Regions from separate parts of the Homo sapiens genome. Here regions 2, 3, 4, 5 and 6 are each linked to region 1. The links are contacts of gene promoters, found by promoter capture Hi-C in blood cells and fetal thymus (Javierre and others, 2016). All regions are on one chromosome and are shown on one strand. The core of a region is centred on a gene start or on the middle of the fragment in contact, and the rest is flanking DNA. Distances in the headings are between cores, read along the strand shown.

Region 1 (4,219 bases), core at 736-3,235:
ACTTTCAAATGATCTATATTAAAATATGGCTCTATTGTATATAATTATGAACAGATATATTTATTTCAAGTTAATTTAATGAGATGCAAACTATATTATATAGACTAGTTAAGACATACTTTATGCTTAACATAATTTATTAAGCATGCTTCATACTTAACATTCCAATGTTTCTTTACTTGCTAATTGGTCATTGATTTTCTTCTTGAACATTTTTGTGCCTGATTATCTTTTATTTCTATTTAATCCGGTAGTAAAGTCATAATTTTGTAATAATATTAACAAAATCCTGCCTTTAGCAATAGATATGTAAATATATAAACATCGGATGATTATTTCACCAAGAAAAATTTTAGTAAGAGAATCTATTCTCAGAAATGCTGCAATTATATCAATTTAACAATGTGATTTAATTTTATCTTGTTTTCCTTTACAGTATTTGTGTGCTTTAAGATCGAGCTAAATTGTTAACTTGGCTATAGCTAAACTGTTAAATTTCTAGTGACTTTTTTAAGGTAAAAAAATACTAATAAATGTACTCAGTCTAGAGGTTACTTTAAACTTTTGAGTAAGTCAGTCTATGAATGAATTATTCATTTTATATGCTACAAAAATGTTTACTTAGTATTGAGGTATTTGGAATCGAGTAGGGCTCATTCTTTTGCTGTGATGAGTCTGCTTGATTCCTAGTAGAATGGAAGTGTGATTTAAGCCACCACCCTGTTGAAGAAGATGAATTGAGTATAGAGACCGTGAGCAGAACACAGTTCTGCCACGATCTTTATTTACTTGAGCATCCACTTTGAGGGAAATATGGGTTTAATCATTCACAGGAGCAATCCACCACAGGCAAACACTTGAGTCACTAAACATTTTCACGTGTGCGAATAATGCCTGATTTCAGGGTCTCTGTTTAGTCTGTTTCAGGATATTGAGGATTCTCGGGATTTTTTTGCCATAAGCCTTAGGCACTCGTGATGACAACTCCCGCTATTATAATTTAAGAGTGGACAGATGAATTGATTCTGGGTCCTTGTGGCACACTTGTTAAAACTTCCTGGCAGGACAGGGTCCCCCTGTGTACACAGTTGAAAACTTGCAGTCCAAGTGACTCACAGGCTCTTCAGTTACCATGGTGATATTCCATTACAGGAGCTGATAGATTCCAGAGAGATTGGTGCAAGCCGTCTCAGCAGAGTGGAGTCGCTGGCTCCCGAAGTGAAACAGAACACAACTGCCAGTGGGTGTGAGCTCATGCACACGGAGATGCAGGCCCTGCGTGCCGACTGGAAGCAGTGGGAAGACAGTGTATTCCAAACGCAGAGCTGTTTGGAGAACCTGGTCAGCCAGATGGCCCTTTCGGAGCAGGAATTCTCAGGCCAAGTGGCTCAACTGGAGCAGGCCCTGGAACAGTTCAGTGCCCTTCTGAAAACCTGGGCTCAGCAGTTAACCCTCCTGGAAGGCAAGAACACGGATGAGGAGATAGTGGAATGCTGGCACAAAGGACAAGTAAGTTGGCTTCCTGTTTTCTATTGGTGGTTATGCTTTAAAAAATGTTTTGACTTTCATCATTCCTTAAAAAAAAAATCTTGCTAACTAAAAACACGCAACATGCACACTTGGAAGAAGTATTTATCTCATTAAATAAGCAAAGTCTGATTTGTTTCCTTTTCTTATATATCAAACTTTTGTAAAAATAAAGATTTGGGTTATTATTTGCGGTAGGAAACATTTGTTGTTAGTGGAGACATTTTACTTTCATTCCTATGGTGTAAGAGTCTGTAATACTGTATTCAGCCATTCAGTCTGAAAAATGGCCTGTGGGCAGGGGCATAAATAGACAGAGAGTCATAGCTGTTTTCTTGCCAGTTAACTATTTCATACAACTAAATGATTGAATTTATAGCCTTAAAAGACTCACTTGGTAATCTCCTACAGCACAGCAAATAGTTATCTCCCCGATTAGCTCTCCTCTGTGTGGTTTTGACAGCTGTTCTTGAATTAGCCTGTTAACAGAACTCTACGTCACCCTCCCTGGTCACCTTCCCGAGACTTTTTTTTTTTTTTTGAAGCTAATGGCAGCTTCTTTAGAATGTGAGAAAGGGAAGCCTACAAGGGAGACCGAAGAATGAGCAAGAGTGTAACCTCTTCTTCGTTTCTTTCACTGTTAAACAGTATCTTTGAAAGCCTTTTCAATATTTCCAGTTTTATAATGCCCTGATTCATGGATGTCCTTAAAAGGAAATTTAGTAAACTTCTCTGCTCCTATTTATATTACAATCATTTCAAAATAGCTCCTGCCAGTAAGAAAGTCATGTAGTATTTCCAGCAGTGTCTGGTTTTAAATCAAGTATTTGAAACAAATGCAGCATGCCATAAAATAAAGCTTTCTACCTCTTTATGCTACTCTATTTATAATGATTCTAGGTTTGGGGGTTTGTTTTTGTTATTCTGTTCCATTTCCTGTCCTTTAGATTTATGTACCAGAATAAAGCATAGAAATCAGTTCTGTCACAGAGGGACAAAGAAGTTGATAATTGCTCTACATGGTATAATATGAAAAAATCAGTTACACTTTCTTGGTTCCTTTTTCTTTCCCTTTCTTTCTATTCCAGTCACAGAGTGAAATTTTTAAAAAGGAAAGATTTGGCTGTGCCTAGATTACATTACTATTCTGTTCATTATTTTTACGTTGATATTATTAGTAAAAATAATGGTTGAGGCCTATAAAAATATACATGAGAATGCAGTAGTAAATATGGGTTTTCAGTTGTGTTAAATAGTTCAAATGTGACAGCCCTCTGTGTATGTCTGCTTCCAGATTTGACTCCAGGGTCAATGCTTTTGATGACAATGCTACATTGCTTCTCAATATTCATGTTTTCTTTTATTTCTAATAATGGCATTTTATCTAAAAGTGGAGATATTTCTATCACAATGAATATGTAAGAAAATGTTAACAAAATAGTAAATATGCTAGGGTTCTTAGGGCATTGTTTTGCTTTTAGGGAGGACTTGTCATTGTTGATGATCACAATAAGAATTAAAGTATTTATTTTATGCAATTAGATGACAATACTCAAGAAATTCTTTAAAACATAAAAACAGATGATCTATAAAGTATATAATATAATATTGTAAAAATAATTCTATTTACTATGTTTGCGAAACTCATTTATCTTAATATCCTTTGGGATATTAGCTTTGGAAATAATTTTCTTAAGCTGTATAAGGTGGAAAGATGCATTCTAGAACTTAACAGAATCAGAAATACATAAGCTGATATTTATATATTGACTCTACTGACATACTTTAGGATGAAGTTATAGAAATGTTTTAAATGTAACGTTTTGGTCAAAAACTTTTCACTTTTAATGTCATCCCATTCATAAGTAACTGACTTGAATCTCCAGTATTTTTATGTTTTTGTTGAATGCTAAGTTTCTTTAGTTCTTACAATGTTCTGTCTTAAGTAAAAGGTTCCATATGGTGTAAAATAGTTGGTCCTAGTTTAGTGTTTGGAATTTCAGAGAGAAATTGTTTAGTTGTTGATGAATTTTTGTAAATAAAAATGTCTTAGACTCCTCCAGCCCAGACACCGAGTTAAATAAAGAATTGACAAACCAAGAGAATGTCATTCCTGCTCTCATAATCACAGCCTAGGTGGGGAGATACGCAAGCATAAAGCCAATGTGGATACTCCTTGTGATGAATGTCTGCAAGGTCCTGTGTATCCTCAGATGAGAAACCCGAAGAGGTGGGAAGGAGGGCAGGGGGTACTTAAAGGAGTTGTTATTTGAGTTGAGTCTTGAGGTATAATTAAAATGTGACCTGACAGGTGAGGTAGAGGAACAGCATCAAGATGCAGGATCATTGAGGAATCAGAAAACACAAGAGAGGAACCTAGAGAGGAGGAATCAGATTAGGAGGATGTAGTGCCACCCCCAAAAGAAATAATGAATATGTAAGTGGGTCTGTGAAAGTCAACGTGCAGAGGCAAAGAGGGGAATGATGAAAGGAGCTAAGACACAGAATAAGCTAGCCTGGATATCTCTTGCATAGAGTGAGAAAGGAAACAAAGGGAGAGGCCCGGATGATGCTTAATCTTCTGATTGACATCAGCGGGGGACAGTGGTGCCATTTACCAGGACGAGGAATGAAGCACAGGGCTGGTTTGTTGAGGGATGTGGTTTCTTTACAAATCTGGGCCATCTCTTGA
Region 2 (4,269 bases), core at 1,663-4,162, 130 kb after region 1:
ATTTGTGTTATGTAGAAAATACTTTGGGTAACAGATTCTTCAGGAGTCAGTTTTAGCACATAAGTAAATTGTTACCAGTTCCTTTTACCTTCCCATAGCACAGTATTGTTTCTCCTGGAAATTAAATTTCTGTGCCTCTATGTTATTTCTTAGAATCTGTGTTATATTTACAAGTATTTTGAATTCCCTGTTACACATTTTGAGTTTTCCCGTTGCTTTCCTCCTTAGAATGATCTGAAAGTGCTGTTTACATCACTGGCTGACAACAAATACATCATTCTGCAAAAACTGGCAAATGTGTTTGAACAGCCCGTAGCAGAACAAATAGAGGTATTTATAGCTGCCTTTTCCTAGAAGAGAAAATGCATAGAGGAGATATGACTTACTATGAAATTTTGAATATTCTATGAAAGATTAATGGCTCACAGTGGCACTTTTGTTTGTAGTATTTTTGTTTTTGAGTACTGGGTTTGAATAACATACCAGGTGACATTGACTCTGTTACTTACATCTGCACAGAACTAGGAAATGTGAGCTGGGAAAAGGTATCCATGGCAGATGCTGACCTGAAGGAGTTTTCTGCCCAATGATGAGATTAGATATGAACCTCAATGACATAGGGCAGAAAGTCAAACTGTCCTGGGAGTGGTACTGACAAAGCATTATGGGTACTCAGACCCTTCTGGCCTCCAGCAGGGGTAGGATTAGGGAAGCTTTGTAGAGGGAAATTTGAACTGAACCTAAGAGTTTGGACACACAACAACAGGAAAGAAAGATATCACGGTAAAGAGGACAGCAAGAAAAAAGGCACAAATTGTTAGAGAATTCTGAGCACTTAGGGAAAAACACAGGTAATTCTATTTTAGCTGAATTTAAGATAAATGAAAGTGACTGAGGACAAACAAGATTGGATATGTAAATTTAAGGCAGTTTGTAGGGCCTGTTGAATGTGTGACTTTGGACTTTATTCTATAAACTAGTTACCTGTACACTTTATTTGTTGCATGCCTCATTAGCTAAAAAAAAAAGGAAATAAATATGCAGCATAAGTGTATGTATTTTTATTTATTTATAAATTATAAGCAATTTATGTTATAAATCACAATTAAATTCAGCCAAATTTATTTTCAATTTTTGTTTGTGTACATGCTACAACCAAAATTGAAAATTAATGTGGTTGAATATAAATGAAAGATGTGGTGTTTCATCCTGGTAAATCATCTTGCACACTCTTGGGTGTTTAGACTCAGCTGGGAGATCCCTGGCCATGGAAAGTTGTAGGGGATGTTTGCAGGTAAAAATGAATGGCAGTTCTAGATCTTGCTTCTGGTTAGTTTACATGACAGCACCAGGGTCAGGAAACAGGAGATCCATCATGAGGCTTCATGTAGCTGTACTGGAGAGAAAGAATGAGAACCCAAACTGGCATGATGGCATGAAAATGCAGATAGAAGAAATGGGAGGGATGTTAGAATATCTCCTGTTTCATAAGCTAAGTAATTGTGAGAAGTATGTGTTTTAATAGAATTCTCTGATTTAATTTCAGCGAACTTCCCGGGAATCTATGGATAGACGATAGAGAATAATCTGACATATAATATGTGTGTGTGTGTGTGTGTGTGTGTGTGTGTGTGTTAAAGAACACCTCTCAAAATAGTTTGCAAAACTGTGAGTGTGCATTTTTCTTTTTATTTATTTTTAAAAATATATGTGTGTGTGTGTGTGTGTGTGTGTGTGTGTATATATATATATATATATATATAATAAAAAATATATATTTTAATATGGAGATAGGGTCTCACTTTGTTGCCCAGGCTGGTCTGGTCTTGAACTCCTGGGCTCAAGCAGTTCTCCCATCTCAGCCTCCCAAAGTGTTGGGATTACCGGTGTGAGCCACCGCATCCGGCTGTGCATTTTTCTTGACCATAATTTCATCTGCTTTTTAAAGAGATTTCTCATTTCTCCCCATGAAAAATCTTTTTGTTTTTTTTCTTGGCTTATAATGTATGTGTGATTCCAAAAAAGACTGGAGCAACTGTAGTGATGTCTTGCTTTGGATTTCTAATATGAATTATGAGATATGTATGATCACAAGTAATAATTTTTACTAATTTTTGACCAATATAACTGAATGTCACAGATGAAGAAATAACCAGTTAGATTTTTTTCTTTGAATAAATGGAATGCAACTAATGAACGTGCTAATTCCATGCCTACCCAACTTGGATTAAAAAGGCAATAACAGCAGAGGGCATGGGGAAGACACACCTCACTCAATATAGTCATCTCTTGAGTTGTGCTGTTCCAATCCAGAGCAGTTCTCTTGCCTCATAAACCTGGTGCACAGTTGTCTTCTTGGATTTCCCTTCACCACCATCCTGAGAATCCCTTCATTTCTTCCTATGTTGGATCTTCTCTCTTCTGAATCCCAAGTCTTTCTCTTTACTGCATTGCTTCCTTGTTTCGTTAGTGCATGTCCTTTCTTAGAAAGGGTACATGATAAGTGTATTTTTCCAGATGTATGTCTGAAAATGTTCTTATACCATGTTCACACTTTATTGATCGCTTTGCTGTTTTTATGTGATCCTTCAGGGTCATTTGTTGAATATGAATTCTTTTGGAGTTTCAAGGCTTTTTCTTCATTGTTTTCTAGCTCTCAGTGTTGTCTTAAGGAATCTAAAAACATTCTAATTCCCAAAGGTTTCCAGTGTCCTGAAATTTCACAATCACATGCCTTGGGGAGGATCTATTTTTATCCACTGGGCTGGGAGCTCAAGGGACTCTTCTGATTTGGCAGCTCTCATCTTTCTGTTCTGGAAAATTTTCTAATGATTTATTTAATACATTTCTTTCCTGCATTTTACCTGTCTTCTTTTCTGGAGAACTCCTTTTTGTCAGATACTCGGGTTCAACCCTTGAACTGTCTTACCAAGAGACCTTTCTTTGTCTTTTTGCTCCGCTTTTTGAGAAACGTCCTCAATTTCAACTCCAGACTCTTGTACTGAATTGGCATTTCTGCTCTCACGTATTTAATTTTCCCGGAGCTCACTTTGGTTCTCCGAATGATCCTTTTTGTAGTATTTTTTATTTTTTTTAATGAATACATTATCGTTTATATCTTTCTGGGTATATTAATGGTTTTTTTTTTGTTGTTTAAAGTTCTACTTTTCCTGTATAATCTGTTTTCCTCCAGCTTGCTTTTATTTGTTTGCTTCTGTTAGTCCCCATCTTTCATGTCATCGAAAGGCATATTGAAATCTTTTGTTGCCTATTCAGGTTTAGGATGGAGGACTAAACAGCTGAAAGGGAACTCTGTGTGTGGATGGAACATGATAATTTTAAGAGTTCCTGCAGGATGGTCTCTATGGACCATTTATTTGTTAGAGAATCCTTCTGTCAAATTGTCAGGCCTGTCTTATTGGTGTGTTCAGATATTTTTCCCTCTCATCTCTGGAGACTAGAGCCCTGACTGCAGCACTTCTTGCCCCAGGGAGAGAAGACTCAGGGGCCCCACATTCAGCATGCAGGGAGCATCCAGTTATTTCATCCCTTGCTTTCAGTCAAGCACTCAAGCTCACAGCTGTGTCCAGTGCCCCTCTGTCTGTTTTACCTTCTCCAGAGAACACACTTTCAGTCTTTTACCCGGGAAGAAAAAGGGACAGTATGGAATAAGGAGGGGCATCTGTGGGTTAACTGTCCTTTAAGCAGCTCTTCACTAACCCTCCTTACTTAGCACCCCAGCTTACTTCACCCAGAGTTCCAGAGATTTCTGTTGCTCTGAAGTGGGTGGTGGAGATCCTCCACTGGTTTAGAATTCAGCTTCCCCAGATTTCCTAAGTCAATTATCATGTATTCTTTTGACTTCTAGCTCCCAACATATTGTTGGCATTGTTTTCTTTTCTGTTCCCTTGTCCTTTTAGATTTATGGGGAAAAAATATGCCAGAGAACAAGCAAACAAAATACTCACTCTGACTGTAGGGGGTTTTCAGGAAAGAGAACATTGGACACATGTGTTTCAGCTGCCATCTGGAGTCTTGTTTTTGTCCTCCTTCAGGGGCAACCTCTGTTGCCCTCTTTCCAAACGCCTGCTTAGGCTGCTCCAGGATTTGTGGTCTGGTATCTCCCTTCTCTGATCTCTGCTAATGGGGATGAGTTGCATTATCGAGTATAGTACTTACTTATATTCAGCCTTGCTTTATTTTTCTCTGTTTACTCTGGCTTCCTAACCAGACCATCAGCTCCTTGAAGGACAGGATGAGATCTTGTTC
Region 3 (4,302 bases), core at 1,410-3,909, 160 kb after region 1:
TAGAACAATTTAAAGTGACTATTTTTTAAATCTTTCAGGATCTGGAAGATTTGATTAAAGCAAAAGAAAAAGAAGTAGAGAAAATTGAGCAGAATGGACTTGCTTTGATTCAGAACAAGAAAGAAGACGTCTCTAGCATTGTCATGAGCACACTGCGAGAGCTCGGCCAAACCTGGGCAAATTTAGATCACATGGTAATATTGCTCACAGAAAGCCAGCTCCAGGACCGTGTTTGCCAGCTCTGTCCAAACTCTGGGTTTTGGTTTTCCTAAAGTAGCAGAGGAAATAATCAAATCTATACATTATCTCCTTGTACTTTTAAGTCCACTTCGTTATCCTCTTTTTTTTTTTTAAAGTCTAGTTTCTGGTGTTTTCTAGAATAAGCCTTTATTTTAAACATTACTCTCTTAATGATCTCATCCATTCCCATGGCAATAGATCATTCTCAAACATCTGTCTCCAGCCTGGCAAAAGATATACAAAGTGGATATCTGTATCTAAGTGATGCAAACCAAGCTAAACACTTTTCTGACAGAGATAAATAATTATGAGGAAGGAATATCTTAGATGTTTTGTCTTAAGATATTTATCTGAGTGTGTGTGTGTGTGTGCGTGTGTGTGTGTGTGTGTGTGTTTGCGCATATGTGAGATAGATATGGATATTGTTATAGCTATAGATAGATTTCACTTTCTGGGACCTGACTACCTGTATTCAAATTGAAATTTCTCACATTCTAGCAGTATAATCTTGGGTAATTTTCATTACCTCTTAGTGTCTCAGTTTCCTCATCTATAAAATGGGGATAATGATCATACCTATCTCATAAGGTGTTGTGAGGATTAAATGAGTTAATGCATTTGAAACACTCATTTAATACAATTCTTAAACTGTTTTATTAAAAGTATCAACCTCTTATAACTTAAAAATATATATACATATATGTATATATATATACACATATATATGTGTATACATATGTATATATGTATATATATACATATATATATATATTTATCAGTTACCCTTTTAAGCATTTCCACTTAGAACTGAGTGTTTAAAGTGTGGAAGGCATAAATTTCAAAGTTGATACATTTTACCTTTTAAATCTTTTTCTTTTTAGTTTTGTTTGTTTATGATACCTGAAACCCTGATGAAGTTCTTAGATGTTAATATTTTCCCATCAATTGAATATATATTCCATCATTCTAGATATTATGAAATTATAAGCCATATTTGTCTTTTTCAAAAGGTTGGACAATTAAAGATACTGCTGAAATCAGTGCTTGACCAATGGAGTAGTCACAAAGTGGCCTTTGACAAGATAAACAGTTACCTCATGGAGGCCAGATACTCTCTTTCCCGATTCCGTCTGCTGACTGGCTCCTTAGAAGCTGTGCAAGTTCAGGTGGACAATCTTCAGGTAAGGAATTAATTTAACACATCCTTAACGTTCATTTTAATTTTAGAAAACTGAAAAATTACCAAATGGAGACATCATCCTGAAATATTGCCATATGTTGTTTACGTTTAATTATTTTTTAAGATCTTTAAAATTAATTTTACCTGTGTTATTGTTACTTGAGCAAACTTGCCTGTGTGTGCCAAATTCTGGATTAGCTGGTATATAACTAAATGGTTTCCAAGATCCTGTTGTAAAAAAATATTCACATCGTCTTTTATACAATGATTTTATGCCCAACTGAACCTCCTTGATTCATTGTCACTGCCTTTTGTCTTCCTTTTCTCTTCTTATCTGCATCTCCAAACATATTCTAAGGAATGTTCAAAAGAAAACACAGAGAAAAACGGCAAAAGTGGTAAATGTTTAAACCATTCAGTTGCTTCCATTCAGTAAAATATCAGTGGCCTATCCAGCGTGTCCACAGAATCTTCCTTTCTAGCACTTACTGCTTGGTTTCCTGTGGGTCCTTTGTCATTGTGTCCATGTAAAATGATATCCCTGATGTTTGTCTTCAACATAGCACTCTCTCCTGTCTCAGGTCACCGCCCTCAAATTCCTGCTGCCCCCACTCTCCTGTGCACCGGGCCACTCTCACCTGTCACTGCTCTTTCTTCTTGGCTAAAGAACACAGACTATGGGATGGGCAGGGCAGGCCCCTAAGGGATGGGAGGCCAACAAGAGACCAGCATGTGCCCTGCTAATATCTAGTCCGCCTCCCTGGCCAGCCAATCAAAGCTTCTATGTTGCTGACCTCAGATGCAGCCTGCCTTCCTCTCCTCCCCTCTTCTCCCCTCCCTTCCCCTCTCCTTCCCTCCCCTCCCCTCCTTCCTTTTTGAGACAGAGTCTCGCTCTGTCGCCCAGACTGGAGTGCAGTGGTGCTATCTCGGCTCACTGCAACCTCCGCCTCCCGGGTTTAAGCAATTCTCTGCCTCAGCCTCCTGAGTAGCTGGGATTACGGCATGTGCCTCCATGCCTGGCTAATTTTTGTATTTTTAGTAGAGATGGAGTTTCACCATCTTGGCCAGGCTGGTCTTGAACTCCTGACCTCATGATCCACATGCCTCAGCCTCCCAAAGTGCTGGGATTACAGGCATGAGCCACCATGCCCGGCCGACTTTCTTAAGGAAATATTTTTTTTAGGGTAGGGTGGAAGAGAGGAAGGACAAATTTGTCTATATAATTTCTTAACCCTTAAATTGTCGTTACTAAGGATCACGAAAACTTCTTCTGAGGATAGTAAATTTAAAAGCACATCTTATAACTTTGAGGAGGTTAGAAATGCTTTTTAATTTAATATATGTTATGTTTAATACTTGCAAGAGCTGTCTTAAGACATGAAAGGATTAAGGGTCTTTTCCTTGACTGTTTTCATTTGAGGGTAATCAGATATTGGTGTTAAACAGTACTCGATTTTTGTAGCCTACTTCACCTGTGGAGTTTTATGAAGAACTGAGTCTGTCACCTCAGCACTATTTCCAGAGAAACAACTTTCTTTCAGTTCCCTTACTGGTCCTTGGTAGCAGACTATTTAGATAGGCTTGGTAGAAGATGCCAAACCTGTCTGATAAATATTCTTTGCTTTAAGCAATCTTGACATATACAGTGCATTATTATTAATTATAGTCTCCATTCTGTACGGTGGATCACTAAAGCTTATCCCTCCTGTGTAGCTGAAACTATGTTCCTTTTGATCAACATCTTTCTTTTCCCCATCTAATCCCTTATCCCATGCCCTGGTAACTACCATTCTACTCTCTACTTCTATGAGTTCAACTTTGCTAGACAAAAATGGATAAGTATGTGAGGTAATGATATGTTAATTATCTTAATTTATTCATTCCACAATGTAAACATATATCAAAACATCATATAGTACCCTACAAATACATACAATTATTATTTGTCAATTGAAAATCATTTTTTTAAGTTAAAAATAATTCTTGGCAAGGAAGAACACCCAGAGATAAAGCTTGGCAAAGCTGTGCCTTCTTAGAGTCTTCATCTTCGGGAGTTTGTGGTAGAAGCACTGCGGGTATGTAACAAAATAGAGACCTGGCTTTGGCTTTGAGTGTCAAAGAGATCCACAGTTTGGCAGATAGCACGTTACATAACACCATTGCCATGGCTTTGTTAGAAACAAGAGCTTGGGGTAGCAAGGAAAATGAGCACTTAAAGGATTTCTCAGCAAGGCAAATTTACTTCTGCAGGAGGGTGCCACTCACACTTCTGGCTGCTGCAAGAGCACACTGAACAAAGGAGAGAAGGAGTTTTTATCCCTAACGCAGTCCCTATCCCTGCATCCTTCCCCTGTTGGCTAGGGTTGGACCACTCAATCTAAACTGACCTCAGTTGGCTAAGACTTAAACTTTTCCAATTAGGGTAAATATGTGATTCTCAAGGGAGGGAGGGGTAGGAGTGGTCCCTGTGTTACAGCACAAGGCAAGTTTGGACATGTCTGGGCAAGTCAGGACACAACAAGAGCAGGAGGGCTGCTCACAGGCCAGAAACAAGAAAGTACAAGGAGGTGAGGCCTCTGAACCAAGGACAAGGACATTACACAATTAAACCCTTTGAAGAGGAATTTACCATCTCTGGCAGCTTCCTACCAGACAATGGACAAGGGCACCCTATGTGAGTTTTTCAGCAGAATGCAAATGCCAATAGAAGAAGGCTTCATTGCTCAGAACCTCTTCTCATAGCCAAAATAACAAAATCCTACAAAAGAGAATAAATGATTATCTAAAGAAAGCTGATAAAGCATTGGTGCTAAGTCATGCCTGGTTTATACAAGTATATGTACATATTTATGAAAACATATACAAATTCCTTTTAAACTTGC
Region 4 (4,694 bases), core at 712-3,211, 220 kb after region 1:
AATGCTATTCAACTCAGGAGAAAGAAAAAGGGAATTCCCAGAGTGAAGGTGCAGGAAAGTCCCTGATGACAGCTGTACTGCAGCCAAGCCAGCACCTGTCCAGATGGGAGCAGGGGCTCTGGGTGCTCTAGGAGGGATGTTTCCAGGAGGAGCCAGGAGGGGCTAGATTATCTGATGGGCTTAACCACTCCGGAAGGAGTTTTATTAGTTCAATAAGAGAGATAATAGAAGCAAGCATTATAAATTAGAGAGAGAGAGAGGATTGTAAAATCCAGGAAAATGAGTTATCAGGAGATCGAGACCATCCTGGCCAACATGGTGAAACCCCGTCTCTACTAAAAATACAAAAATTTAGCTGGGCATGGTGGTGCTTGCCTGTAATCCCAGCTACTCGGGAGGCTGAGGCAGGAGAATCGCTTGAACCAGGGAGTCGGAGGTTGCAGTGAGCGGAGATCGCGCCACTGTACTCTAGCTTGGCGACAGACTGAGACTCTGTCTAAAAAAAAAGAAAAGAAACATAACCATAGTATATTTTGTTCCTCAAATGTGAAAAATATTAAATAACCATAATCATGAGAACAGTGATTATTACCCTAGCTCTAAGTTGTACTGTAACAGTCATTAGAGTTCAGTCAGCCATGTAGAAGTTTATTTCTTCTCTACTATACAAGAATTCATAAAGTATGGACAAATCAAGCAGTAGCTATGTTACTTAGAAATAGAGAAGTTATATATTACTGAGAAATATAGAAATAGGTTGAATGTGGCGGCTCACCCCTGTAATCCTAATACTTCGAGAGGCCAAGGCAGAAGGATCACTTGAGGCCAGGAATTTGAGGCTGCAGTGAGCCATAATCACACCCCTGCACTCCAGCCTGGGTGACAGAGCAAGACCCTGTCTCAAAAAATTAAAAAGGGTAGAAGTAATACCAGAAGAAAGAGCTGCAAGAGATGGAAATGGTTGCTCCTGAACAGGTGAACTCCGGGGTGGAAAACATGCTGCTTTCTTCAGAACCTGCTAGTCGTTTTTTACTTTTTACTACATTAAATATGCACATATAGCTTTTTAATTAAATTTTAAATTAAGACTTTAAAAAGTCCTGTACACCAGTGGTTAAAAGTAAACTTTCTGGGTTCAGATCTTGGCCTCACTACATTCCCATGTGATCTGGGACAAAGCCATAACTATTTGAACCCTTAGAGCCCTGATTTATAGAACGCCAATCATCAGAGTCCACACCACACAGTGTGATTATACAAATTACTAAGAAGAAGCACTGAGCACAGTGCCTACCTAACACAAAGTCAGGGCTTGATACATTTTATTTTAATCATGTCACAGTTACCACAGTTTCCCTTGTGGAAAATTTTTAAGAATGATTCTGTCCCTACTAAAAATACGAAAATTAGCTGGGCATGGTGGTGCGCGCCTGTAGTCCCAGCTACTCAGGAGGCTGAGGCAGGAGAATCGCTTGAACCTGGGAGGCGGAGGTTGCAGTGAGCCGAGATTGTGCCACTGCACTCCAGTCTGCAGACAGAGCGAGACTCCGTCTCAAAAAAAAGAAAAAAAGTTGAAGCTGAGCCTAAAACTTTGTCTTAGGGCACTTATGTATGATTATAAATCCCCTCAAATCTTAGGGTTGCTATTTCATATATTGATTTTAACAAAAACTTTTGAGTATTTAGGGAAAATGAAATAAAAATGCTAACTTTCTTAAATGCATGGTTTATGTCCAGGGGCCTAACACTTCTTCCAAATGTATATGCTTGCACAAAATGTAGTTTAAGACCTCAAATGTACTTGGTAATCTCATTTACAGAATTATTTGTCTTTATATTTATCTTTAAGCAAATACTAAGTTTAATTTTTATATTACTTCATTTTATATTTTTTAGAACAGCAATTCCTGTGACATATTGTTTCATGTAAGTGAAGGAGGTTATGTCAGAGATTTGAAAGGACTGTTTATACAAATATAAATATTTTAGTAAAATTTATCGTCTAGTGTCTAGTTTATAAAATCTCCAAAATTAATTAAAGGCACTATGACATTTGACAATAGCTAGTGTTTGCATAGATGTTGGAACATGGCATCAAGGAAAAAAATAAGAGGAAGAGCAACACAAGAATATAAATCCCGGGTATCTGCGTAAATTGAGGAATTTTTAGAGCAAGAGAAAAAATAAGCAAATTCAAGAACTTCCTGATAAAAGAAAAGGAAAACACATTAAGGACATTGATGAATATAGTAAACAAAAAATGATACTGGTAGAGCTTACTTTTAATAATGGAATACTTACTTGGAGTAAATGGAGTTAAAAGTTCAATAGAGAAAACAACATACAATTTGAATTTACATTTTATACAGTTAAAATGAAGATTTCACATTGTGGGACTCCAGGGAAATCCAATGCTTTGTTTTTATCATAAAACATTTTACTTCTGCCCTACATTAAAAGTTGCTCTATGCCAGGCGCAGTGGCTCACACCTGTAATTCCAGCACTTTGGGAGGCCGAGGTGGGCGGATCACCTGGTCAGGAGTTCCAGACCAGCCTGTCCAACATGGGGAAACCCCGTCTCTACTAAAAACACAAAAATTAGCCAGGCATGGTGGTGGGCGCCTGTAATCCCAGCTACTCAGGAGGCTGAGGCAGGAGAATGAGGAGGAGAATCAGGCAGGAGGTTGCAGTGATCTGAGATCATGCCACTGCACTCCAGCCTGGGCGACAGAGTGAGACTCCATCTAAAAAAAAAAAAAAAAAGAATTTGTTCTCTGAGGAAACTGCTGATGTCATGCATGATATAGAACCTAGGTCCCTTAAATAGTCTTTCTACATCTTTGTGGGGCACATATGATATTTTGTTACATGCATAAACTGTGTAATGATCAAGTCAGGGTATTTGGGGTGTCCGTCACCTCTGGTATTTATTATTTCTATGTGTTGGGAATGTTTCAATTTCTCTCTTCTAGCTATTTTGAAATATGCAGTACATTGTTGTTAACTATAGTCATTCTACTCTATCGAACATTAAGACTTATTCCCTCTAACTGTATGTTTGTGTCTATTGACACCTCACTTCATTGCCCCCAAACACTCTTCCCAGCCTCTGCTATCTGGCGTTCTACTCTCTACCTCCATGAGATCAACTTTTTTAGCTCCCACATACAAGTGAGAATGTGTGATATTTGTGTTTTTGTACCTGGCTTATTTCACTTAACATAGTGACCTCCGGTTCCATCCATGTTGCTGCAAACAACATAATTTCATTTTTTTATGACCGAATAATATTCCATTGTGTATATATATGCCACTTTTTCTTTATTTGTTCGTCCATTGATAACCATGTTACCTTTTAATGATGGTGGAATTAACTGTTTAAAAAAGAATGCAAATCAGCTGGGCGTGGTGGCTCACACTTGTAATCCCAGCACTTTGGAAGGCCTAGGTGGGTGGATCACCTGAGGTCAGGAGTTCAAGACCAGCCTGGCCAACATGGTAAAACCCTGTCTCTACAAAAATACAAAAACCAGCCAGGCATGATGGCGGGTACCTGTAATCCCAGCTACTTGGGAGGCTGAGGCAGGAAAATCACTTGAACTCGGGAGGCAGAAGTTTCCATGAGCTGATATTGTGCCATTGCTCTCCAGCCTGGGTGACAGAGTGAGACTCCATCCCAAAAAAAAAAAAGTAAATCTTTGGATCTTAAAGCCCAGTTCTTGAGTGCCAGGTCTAGCACATGCATATATACAGGCCCTTGGTATCTACGGTTCTACACTGGTGGATTCCACCAACCGTAGATCAAAAGTATTTGGAAAACAATTTGCATCTGTATTGAATACATACAGACTTTTTATTCTTGTCATGATTCCCTAAACAATACAGTATAAGAACAATTTCTATAGCATTTACATTGTATTAGGTATTATAAGTAATCTCAAGATGATTTAAAGTGTATGGAAGGATGTGTGTAGGAGGTATGCAAATACTACAGCATTCAATATCAAGGACTTAAGCATCCATGGGTTTTGGTGTCCGAGGGAAGGTCTGGAACCAATCCCCTGACAGATACTAAGAGATGATGATTGATTGATTGGAATGAAAGTGATGTATTCGTGAAGTAGAGTCTGGGGCAAGATTCATTTTTTATTGATTAAAGAAGTTAGTTTTACTCTTAGTGTAGACCATTTCATTTGTTCAGTTTATATTTTGGCATTGCTCGCATAGCCAAAATATTTCTACATCCATTTTCTAGTACTTTTGAGCTTGCTGGATTTCATAAATGAGGCTCAATAAATGTCATACATTCAAGGAAATTAAATATTTGTCAAGGTGTAGCCTAGCCATTTACCAACATAGGTTGCTTCAGTTTCTCTCATCTGTATACATGTAATTGTTGAATAAAGCCTGTTACGTTCCCCTGCAGGAGCTTCAGAGAGACATAGAGAAGCACAGTACAGGTGTTGCATCTGTCCTCAACCTGTGTGAAGTCCTGCTGCACGACTGTGACGCCTGTGCCACTGATGCCGAGTGTGACTCTATACAGCAGGCTACGAGAAACCTGGACCGGCGGTGGAGAAACATTTGTGCTATGTCCATGGAAAGGAGGCTGAAGTGAGCTGGGATGCTGAAACAGATAGGGAAGAGGAAAGACCAAAAAGAAAATAAAAATCACCCAGAGTATCCACTGTTC
Region 5 (4,741 bases), core at 1,418-3,917, 180 kb after region 1:
TTTAAACACGTAACTTGAGTATTCCAAAGAAGACAGGAAGCCCTGTCCTGTTTGAGTTCTTTGTTCATTTCCAGGTTGCCCCTTACCTTCAGGCTTCTAGCATCTTAGAGAGATATCTCCTATCACTCTAGTGAGTTCTCCCCAGTGTATCCAATGAGTTCCTCTTCCCTTAAAGTCACTGTTCTTTCGTTCGTTTCTCCTCCAAATTTCTCTGAGAGCCCTCATTCGCAGACATGACTTCAACTGCCCCCTGCCAGCAGAGAAGGGGCATATTCATATCTTCTGGTCATATTTACCTGCTGTGCTTTTGACTTGTGTTTCTAACCACCTTGTGAGTTTATGTCTATGTGCATCACAGATGCCTTGTACCCTGTGGGTCCCAGCAGAACCTGTGGTCTCTGGACCAACTTTTCTCCCTTTCCCATCACACTTCCAGGAAGTGCCATTAGTCTAGGAATCCTAGAATAATTTGAGAGCTATACTTCTCCTTGTCTATCATCCCCTTATCTAATCTCCCTAACTCTACATCCCTGCTGCCACTGCCTTGGTTAGGTGCTCGCGATTTCTTGCCCAGATAGACAATAGCTTCCTAATCTTAGTATATCCAACACACATCCTTCTTCCATTCTACTTTTACTCGATTCCTGAGTGCTTTTATGAAAACTTTAATCCCAACATCAATATTCTTCTGTGAACCCCAGTCACTTTTAGTATAAAAACCAAATTTCTGCAAGATGTCGTCTGGCCTCATCTCCTACCACTCTCTCACATGCCATCCACACTCCAGCCACTGAAAACCATACTTAGTTTCCTGAATTTATCATATTTTTCTCATATAGTGAATGTGCGCATCCTCATTTCTCTGTGAGAAGGTGGCCTCTCCTCCACTCCTGATCACACTCATCTCACCGCACCAGGTCCTTCTTAATCTGGTGAAGTTCATGTCTCGCAAGACACATTCAGCCTTTACTGCTTTGAGGAAGCCTCTCTGCCTCTTGGTGCGCCCCCTGCTGGGTCAGATGTCCCTCTGTATTTCCACGCATCAATCTTAAAGAGTGGTTATCTTATTACATCAATCGTACTTACCTTGGAGACAGAAACTAAGCCTGTCTCCATTGTATTCTCACTCATTTATTCACTGGTGCATGCATGTGCAAAGCACCACTACGGTAAATGCTTGCTGGATGAAAGAGGGCAAAAGTTAGGGCCATTTAAAAATCCTTATGGGAAGGAAACGATGAAAGAAAGAATGAGAAAATAAAAAGCTATGGTTCCTTTCAGTTCAAAGAAAAAGTGTTTCTGCGGCAACAAGGCAGCTACATCCTGACTGTGGAGGCTGGCAAGCAACTCCTTCTCTCGGCGGACAGTGGCGCTGAGGCCGCCTTGCAGGCCGAACTCGCTGAAATCCAAGAGAAATGGAAATCAGCCAGCATGCGGCTGGAAGAACAGAAGAAAAAACTAGCCTTCTTGTTGAAAGTAAGTTCAGTTAGAAAAAAACGAACCAAAAAACCCTTTTAGTCGTTGTACTACTTCCTCCCATTGTTATTCTACAAATCAAATAATGCAAAGATCATGAAATAATACCCTGCAGTATTTTGATTCTCTGTGTTTTATTTAAGACTTTGTCTTATCTTGCACAAACTGGAAAAGTTTCCCAATTTTCAGCATTTAATTTTTCAGGACAACCTCCCAACAAAGTAAAGTCTAATAAGACTGTCTAAGCTATGAATTCTGATTAATGACCAGTATGAAACCTTAGCCATGTGATGACTTTATAAATCCACACAGAAATTCAAAGGGTAGGTTCCACTCCCTAATCTGAGACTCTAAAGTGGTTTTCAAGATTGGTATCTCTTCTTTTATGGAAGGGAAAAACCAATCCAGAAAGATACTCTTAATTTATCTTAGCTGATCCAAGCAAGTTGCCATGAGATAAAATCTCCAGGAGGTGTATTAAGCCCTTAGTTGGATACAGATCACATACTGATCACACAGTAAGTTTTGGAAAATGTAGATTTATCCGGACCTCCCACAATATGCTTTTCTCTCTCACTCTTCAATTGCATGTATAATGCATAATTAAATGAGCAGTTTAAAAAGGACAGGACCTCTAAAATAAGATAATCTCAAGTTAAAATCATGGTAAACCAAGTGACCCAGTTAACTTAGCCTATCTAAGCCTCAGTTTCCTCATCGGTAGAGTGGGTATATAATTTCACCACCTCCATGTGGCCATTGTGAGGACTTAATGAAATAATGATAGTGAATCATGTGGTACCTTACCTGGCTCATACTGAGCGCTAAATGAATGATAGTGATTATCATAGTTGATGTTATTACAATCTTTAAAAGTAAAGACACCTAAATGTTATGGTCCTGTATATGTTGATAATCACCAACACTTCAGTGAGGGTATCTATTAAATTTGGCCTGTCACATGTTTGGATCAAAGGTAATGACTAAGGTTAATAGAAAAGATTTTGCTTTTTTTTTTTAATGCTTAAAGTGTGCATACATACCCATTGGATTTATTCTATTGAATTTTATTTAATAATATATTGCCTTCTGTGTAGTAAGCAATCCATCAAAAATGCCACTGGACATCTATAAAAAACTATTATTTGCACACAGCACAGTTTCATCAGTAATGTAATATGCCAGGTTCATTTTCTTCCTTTTGCTTTTAGGAAAGGATTTAAAACATTGTAACTCATCCTGTAGAGAACATGTTAATCATATATTTTTTTAAATTTGTGATGTGATTTTTGGAGATGTTTCCAAGACTTAATAAGGCATGATGTCTGAGTCACTACATTTGCTTTTCTTGTCTGTCTGTTTGTTGGTGTAGAAAACATCCACTTTAATAGATATTTGCAGGCTCATGACATTAAGTTATTTCCTTATAATTCACGTCATAAAAGGACTTGGTTATAGATTTAGAATCTAAGTCATCCTTGGAAAGAGGAATCCCTCTTCTGTTCTTGTTAAAGTTTATTTTATTTTGACTTTTACACTACATCCGTTTGCCTAAGAAGGAATTTATGAATCTGAATTTTGATGTTTATATAGCCTCATTTTAGTCTATTTTTTACCCCAGCTATAATACTTATCTATATTTAGCTTTTAATACTGTTAGTAAGTATGCCAAATATAGGCATTATAATTCCATGCTCTGTATGTTCACCTTCTTCACTATCATCTCTTAATTTTGTTCTGAAAAGTAAGAAGCTGATCTTTTTTATCTTTCTTTCTTGTTTTTTTTTCTTTTTTTTTTTTTTGACATAGAGTCTCCCTGTGTCACCCAGGCTGGAGTGCTGTGGTGCAGTCTTGGCTAATTGCAACCTCCACTCTTCTGGGTTCAAGTGATTCTCGTGCATCAGCCTCTCAAGTAGGTGGGATTACAGGTGCACGCCACCACGCCTGGCTAATTTTTGTATTTTTAGTAGAGATGGGTTTTCACCATGTTGGCCAGGCTGGTCTCGAACTCCTGGCTTCAAGTGATCTGCCCTTCCTTGGCCTCCCAAAGTGCTAGGATTATAGGTGTGGGTCACAGCACCCGTGATGATCTTATCTCTTTTAGATCAATAAATTTTTATCAACTGTATGTTGATCAATTCAGGATGTTTGATAGTTTTATTGAGAATGTTGTTTAATTTAAGCAGAAAGAGAAACTTTTTGTCTACCCTCACTATGGTTAGCATTGATAAGCTAATTGTAGCCCTGGGAACACAAAGCATAAAACAAAGGAGAATTTGAACAACTCTGTCCCTGATAGACAATTTTTTTTTGTTTTTTAAGAATTTTTTTTTCTGGTAATTGGGAAGAGGGAATGTGGTTATGCACTCTAAGAAGTTCTATGAAGGAATTTTAAAGAGAAATGAGACTTGTGCCAAATTCTCAGTTCAGTTTTTGAATAAAGACATTTTGAGTAAGGGGGCACTTTAGTCAACACTGCTTCCAGAAAATAGTTGTGGTAATAACACCTCTGGGTTGTTATGCTCAAACTAAGGTGTCAGGAGAGAAGTAGAAATAATCCAGATAAGAAAAGACTGATGATAATGGAAGAGATATTGTGAAGGAAGATGGAACATGATTTGACACCATATTGACAACTAAAAGTGATTCTAGTCATGATTCTAGTTGTCTTGCTTTGGAATTCTGTAATTCACGGTGTATGGAGTGGCCACTGGGGAGATGAGTGGGGAGCAGGAAGGCCTGGATTGGAGAGTTTGACAAACGGGCAGTGTTGGACAACATGAAGGAGACTTGTTTAGTTGAAATTAATTTTCACTGGCACTAAGACACCGGATAGGAGTTAATGTGTAGATAAGGTGCTATAAAAAAGATCAAGCTCTGCTGTGGTTCCTGTCATTTTTTAAAATTCTACTTTTTTATTACAAAAAAATTACGTGTGTCTGATTTTTAAAAATTAGGTAATAATTTAACTATACAGAGTAAAAAATGAAATTTCCCTTATTGTGCCATCCAAATTCTCCTATATTCTCAAGAGGTAACCATTGTTACCAGTTTGCTGTGTAACCTTTCAAAACATAACCACACAATAGATGTTTTATTTTGTCAGTACATAGAGCTCTACCTCATTCTATACTGCCTATCTCTACCACCTGCCCTGGCCTATTCCTCTCCAGAGCACTTACTGCTACTTTGCATATTAGATATAGATTTCTTAAATTGTGCATTATCTCTCTTCTTCTACATCTTAATTTACATGGGTTTTTAT
Region 6 (4,654 bases), core at 2,002-4,501, 240 kb after region 1:
TCTTTCTTTCTCTCTCATTCCTTCCTTCCTTCTTTTTTTTCTTTCTTTCTCCTTCTTTCCTTCCTTCCTTCCTCTCTCCCCCCTCCCTCCCTTCCTTCCTTCCTTTCTTTTTTTTTTTTTTGATGGAGTCTCACTCCGTTGCCCAGGCTGGAGTGCAGTGGCATGATCTCAGCTCAGTGCAACCTCTGCCTCCCAGGTTTAAGCCATCCTCCTGCCTCAGCCCCACTAGTAGCTGGGATTACAGGCACGCACCACCATGCCTGGCTAGTTTTTGTATTTTTAGTAGAGATGGGGTTTTGCCGTGTTGCCCAGGCTGGTCTCGAACTCCTAACCCCAGGTGATCCACCCACCTCAGCCTCCCAAAGTGTTGGGATTACAGGCATGAGCCACCGTGCCCGGCCACAAAGATGGTTTTCAAGGGCAGAAAAGGGGACCATATTGTAGAACTATACACCATGTAAATAAGCACACACGATTTAATGAATTGATATTTTAAGAAATGTCCAATTAAAATTTCATGAAGCATCCAGGTACTTCTGGGACCTACAAGAACTCTTTGTAAGGGAAATACAGAATGACCTGGCTCCTACAGGCCTATATCTAGAGCTGGAGAGAAATCCTCTCCAAAATTGTATCTGCATGAATTTGTGGGGGACATAATGAAGTTATTTGACCTCAAGTAAGTGAAACTTCTGAAATTGATTACAGTAGTGGTAGAAGCAATTTTTGCTGTAATAAATAAAACTATAGAGTAATTGTGGTGAAACACCTGGCATTTGCGTTTGATTTTGGCTTGGCCCGCATGGATATAGTACACCTTAACTCCAGCTCTAGATCTTAAAATCCTCCTTAACCCAGACACTAAAATGCTTTAATATATGGAGACTATTGTGAGCATCTCATGAACTGAGAGCTCAGTTTCTTTTTAAAACCCATCAGTGCTTGTTTTTTCCTGTTTGGACAGTATTAAGATGTGCTCCTCCTCAAAATGTGGCCACCTAGGCTCTCCGGGGTCAGGATAAGGAATGAAGTGTGTGCTGCTTTTGTGTTTCTGTGGTTTTAGTATATGCTTTTTATTTGGGGTTGATGTTTTTTGGCTTGCTTTTAGTGATTGTGTGATTTTGTTTTATTTTATTTATTTATTTATTTATTTATTTATTTATTTATTTATTTATTTTTGAGACAGAGTCTCACTCTATCACCCAGGCTAGAGTGCAGTGGTGCGATCTTGGCTCACTGTAACCTCCGTCTCCTGTGTTCAAGCGTTTCTCCTGCCTCGGCCTCCTGAGTAGCTGGGACTACAGGCATGCACCACCATGCCCGGCTATTTATTGTATTTTTAGTAGAGACAGGGTTTTGCCATGTTGGCCAGGCTGGTCTCGAATTCCTGACCTCAAGTGATCCGCCCGCCTCGGCCTCCCAAATTGCTGGGATTACAAGCATGAGCCATTGCGCCTGGTCTGTTTTAAATTTTCAAACAGAAAACTTCAAACAAGAGAAATGAATCTCCCCTCCAGGTGATCCAAAAGGTGCATCCCTATAGAAAGGCCTCTACACTACCCCATGAATTTCAGGACAAAGTACCACGTGAGAGAGATTTACAATGGCTGCATTATGAAATGCATTTTTATCTAGAGTCCCTAAATTACTCTAGTAAGGCCATGTTGCATTATAACCAGATTCCTTAAAAAGTTGATGAAGCAAATGCTGGCCAGGGTCTGAGACCTCAGAGAGATTAGGGTAGGGAAATAAGACCTTGAAAGTCATCCGGCATGACAAGAAAAAAGACATCCTCCTTTGTACTTTCTCCTGATGCTTCCTGTCTGTATTTTCTCTGAATAAATCTGTGGAATAATCAAGTATTTTCCACAGTGTCTCTTAAACCCATGTTGTCTGTGTGGTTGAATCTATTCTACAGTATGTTAAGAACCTATTGAAAAGTGCAAAATCAAGACAGATTGGGAACATTGCAGGGCTAGTGAGAAATGATTTCAAAATGCAGCCTAGGTCAATGTGACTTCCAGGATCTCTCACCCTAACTGGATTGGGGGATTTTAAACAGTACCTAGATACTCAATTACTAATACAGACTCCTGTGCTCAAGTTCTTGGAATTGAGCACTGGGTGTTTTGGAAATGCACAAAGCCAAAAATCAGTCACCTGGTTTTTGTGAAATCAAACCTAACTGGTTAGCTCATGAAATACCCAATTCATTCTCTCTACCTTCACATCAGTGTGGCACAGGCAGTATTCTCAGCCTGTGGGCCACTGAGCCTGCAGACTCAGTACATCTGGATCCCAGGGCCCTGGCATCTGTTTTCTTTGCTTCATTTTTAGGCCCACAAATTTGAATTTTGTTGTGGTTGAACCTCTGTACAGAGTGTGGACTCAATCATACTCCTTAATGAGGTCATTGCCTAGCGTTATTGTTGCCTCCTACAAGACTCCTCTTTATTCCTCCCCCCTGCACCCCCTACCCTGGCTGAACTCTAAGTTCCCATTTGATTTTCAAAATGGTAGCTATTCTGAAATATGTGGCAGACCTTCTTTGTTCAGATATATTCTTTAAAAATGTGGATTTGTGTGTGTGAATGTATTGAGGCTGTTGTGTTCCATGTAACATTCTGTTTCTGACGTTTTCACTCTACACCCTGTTTTCTTAAGATTCATCCATGTTGTTAAGTACTCATCTAATTCATTTCTTCCAACTGCCATACAGTTCTCAGTGGTACGCACCCTCTGTCTTTTACCTAGCCATCCTGTTAAGGCCAGTTTAAATTAATGGATCTTTTCATTCATGTGAAACATTTTCAAGGGAAAATATCTTTGTCATTATTGTCCTTGTTTGATTGTCTTTTTTGTTCTTTTCAGGAGCTCCAGAAAGCTGTGGACCACCGCAAAGCCATCATCCTCTCCATCAATCTCTGCAGCCCTGAGTTCACCCAGGCTGACAGCAAGGAGAGCCGGGACCTGCAGGATCGCTTGTCGCAGATGAATGGGCGCTGGGACCGAGTGTGCTCTCTGCTGGAGGAGTGGCGGGGCCTGCTGCAGGATGCCCTGATGCAGTGCCAGGTCTGTAGAGCTTTGGGCAGGAGGTGACTCAGAGAGAGACATTAGCAATTTAGCTGAGTGTGTGACTTGATGTATCATGGTTTCTAGAGGGACGCAGTTGCTCCCCAAAGTCAGTATTTCAGTGAGATAACCTTGTGCCCAAACTTTTCATTTTACTGGAGCATTTCTACATGTTCATGATCATGTTCAAAATCTCTAGGTCCTATCTTCTGTCCAGATAAGAAGAGACTATTCCTCATGTTTATCTCCGTCGCAACGCTCCTTCTATGACTCATTCATTTATTTCCTTTATTTATTCAACAGATATTTACTGGGCAAGTAGGCAGACCCTTCTTGAACATCAAAGTGAGCATTGCAAATATTTGTTTTTCCATTCATACTGTAATTACTTGCTGGGCGTCCACCATATGGCAGACGTGGTGCTAAAACATTGAATACAGCATGGCCTCTGCTTTTGTTGGGGAAGACAAGATCAATAAAATGCAAGCAAATAGTTAAACCAGATACTTGCAGACGTGGATGATAAAAGTAACTGAGAAAAGCCACTTTGAGAGGGTAGTCAGGGAATTTATTTGGCTCTTTGAGCTAACATTGGAAGGATGTTGCTATGAAGGTAATATAATAAATGGAAAGTCCCAGAAGCAGGAAAGGACTTAGTGTCTTTAGGAACAGAAAACAGGCCATTGTGACCAGAGTGTAGTCGGTGAGCTGAGCCAGGGAGTGAGAAGAAAGACTGAGGAGGTGGTCAGGAACCAGATGGCTTTGTAGGTCCAGGCCAGGAGATTGGATCATATTCTGAGCGCCATGGAAAGCCCTGGAAGGAGTTGAAGCCTGCTCTCCAGGTTTATATGTGCCCCAAGAGTAATATAATAGTTCCTTGAAAGCGGGTACCTAAACTGCTGTTTCACCTCTGCACCCACTCCTAGTACAGTGCCTTATCTGTAGGAGATCTTTAGTAACTGTATGTTGAATAAATAAATGGATGAATGAATGAGTGAATAAATGAATGAATGAAGGGGATATGAGATTCAGCCTAGGTGGGCCTTAAAATATGGAAAGATTTGACTACACAGAGAAGAGAGGGCAGCAGAGTTGCTTCCTTCCAAACTGTATAATAGCACTACCCTTTTTTCAGAAATAACGTATGTTGATGCCAGTTTTCCTTTCGTCTAAATTGTCCTCCAAGTAATAAATTAGATGCTTTTGGTAAGAACGTGAACTCACGATCAGGTCATTACAACAGCACCAGTGCCTTCCTCAGAAAGGAGTTGCATGTATGTTCTTAAAACCAAGTATGTTTGCTAATGGTGGCAGTTGAAAGACATTTAAGTTTTGAGAGAAATAAAAATATTTTATTTACAGTTACTTTAAACTGTTTTCTGTAGGGTTTCCATGAAATGAGCCATGGTTTGCTTCTTATGCTGGAGAACATTGACAGAAGGAAAAATGAAATTGTCCCTATTGATTCTAACCTTGATGCAGAGATACTTCAGGACCATCACAAACAGCTTATGGTAAGATGTGTGAACTCTGGCAGCCTCCAGTTATTTTTAGCAGGGTTGCATTTCATTTACAGAAAATG

Evidence for each region. The method cuts DNA at HindIII sites, captures the fragments that hold promoters and counts their contacts. A CHiCAGO score of 5 or more calls a contact.
Region 2: a fragment that was not itself captured here is called in contact with the fragment with the promoter of SYNE1-AS1 in region 1 in 1 of 17 cell types (neutrophils); the score reaches 9.7 in neutrophils.
Region 3: a contact is called between a fragment that was not itself captured here and the fragment with the promoter of SYNE1-AS1 in region 1, in 1 of 17 cell types (neutrophils). The highest score is 8.5, in neutrophils.
Region 4: a contact is called between a fragment that was not itself captured here and the fragment with the promoter of SYNE1-AS1 in region 1, in 1 of 17 cell types (neutrophils). The highest score is 9.3, in neutrophils.
Region 5: a fragment that was not itself captured here is called in contact with the fragment with the promoter of SYNE1-AS1 in region 1 in 1 of 17 cell types (neutrophils); the score reaches 10.8 in neutrophils.
Region 6: a fragment that was not itself captured here is called in contact with the fragment with the promoter of SYNE1-AS1 in region 1 in 1 of 17 cell types (neutrophils); the score reaches 11.0 in neutrophils.

Annotation. Positions count from the first base shown.
Region 1 is chr6:152,378,296-152,382,514 of GRCh38, reverse strand. SYNE1-AS1 (SYNE1 antisense RNA 1) reads right to left here and starts at 1,985. Exons shown (of 2, transcript NR_120501.1): 1 at 1,922-1,985; 2 at 802-1,455. It overlaps SYNE1 (spectrin repeat containing nuclear envelope protein 1), which reads left to right. Exons shown (of 146, transcript NM_182961.4): 56 at 1,153-1,509. The HindIII fragment of the contact is 6,155 bases long and covers 1-2,388 here.
Region 2 is chr6:152,245,222-152,249,490 of GRCh38, reverse strand. SYNE1 (spectrin repeat containing nuclear envelope protein 1) reads left to right here. Exons shown (of 146, transcript NM_182961.4): 105 at 229-330. Among named protein-coding and RNA genes, the nearest start is that of SYNE1-AS1, 130 kb to the left of the region's middle. The HindIII fragment of the contact is 4,394 bases long and covers 716-4,269 here.
Region 3 is chr6:152,221,613-152,225,914 of GRCh38, reverse strand. It overlaps SYNE1 (spectrin repeat containing nuclear envelope protein 1), which reads left to right. Exons shown (of 146, transcript NM_182961.4): 116 at 39-194; 117 at 1,251-1,421. Among named protein-coding and RNA genes, the nearest start is that of SYNE1-AS1, 160 kb to the left of the region's middle. RefSeq lists an enhancer at 3,579-4,302. The HindIII fragment of the contact is 917 bases long and covers 2,201-3,117 here.
Region 4 is chr6:152,155,831-152,160,524 of GRCh38, reverse strand. It overlaps SYNE1 (spectrin repeat containing nuclear envelope protein 1), which reads left to right. Exons shown (of 146, transcript NM_182961.4): 132 at 4,428-4,615. Among named protein-coding and RNA genes, the nearest start is that of SYNE1-AS1, 220 kb to the left of the region's middle. RefSeq lists an enhancer at 1-147. The HindIII fragment of the contact is 6,175 bases long and covers 1-4,694 here.
Region 5 is chr6:152,202,903-152,207,643 of GRCh38, reverse strand. It overlaps SYNE1 (spectrin repeat containing nuclear envelope protein 1), which reads left to right. Exons shown (of 146, transcript NM_182961.4): 126 at 1,282-1,476. Among named protein-coding and RNA genes, the nearest start is that of SYNE1-AS1, 180 kb to the left of the region's middle. The HindIII fragment of the contact is 6,190 bases long and covers 1-4,741 here.
Region 6 is chr6:152,135,036-152,139,689 of GRCh38, reverse strand. SYNE1 (spectrin repeat containing nuclear envelope protein 1) reads left to right here. Exons shown (of 146, transcript NM_182961.4): 141 at 2,872-3,072; 142 at 4,458-4,586. Among named protein-coding and RNA genes, the nearest start is that of SYNE1-AS1, 240 kb to the left of the region's middle. The HindIII fragment of the contact is 9,888 bases long and covers 1-4,654 here.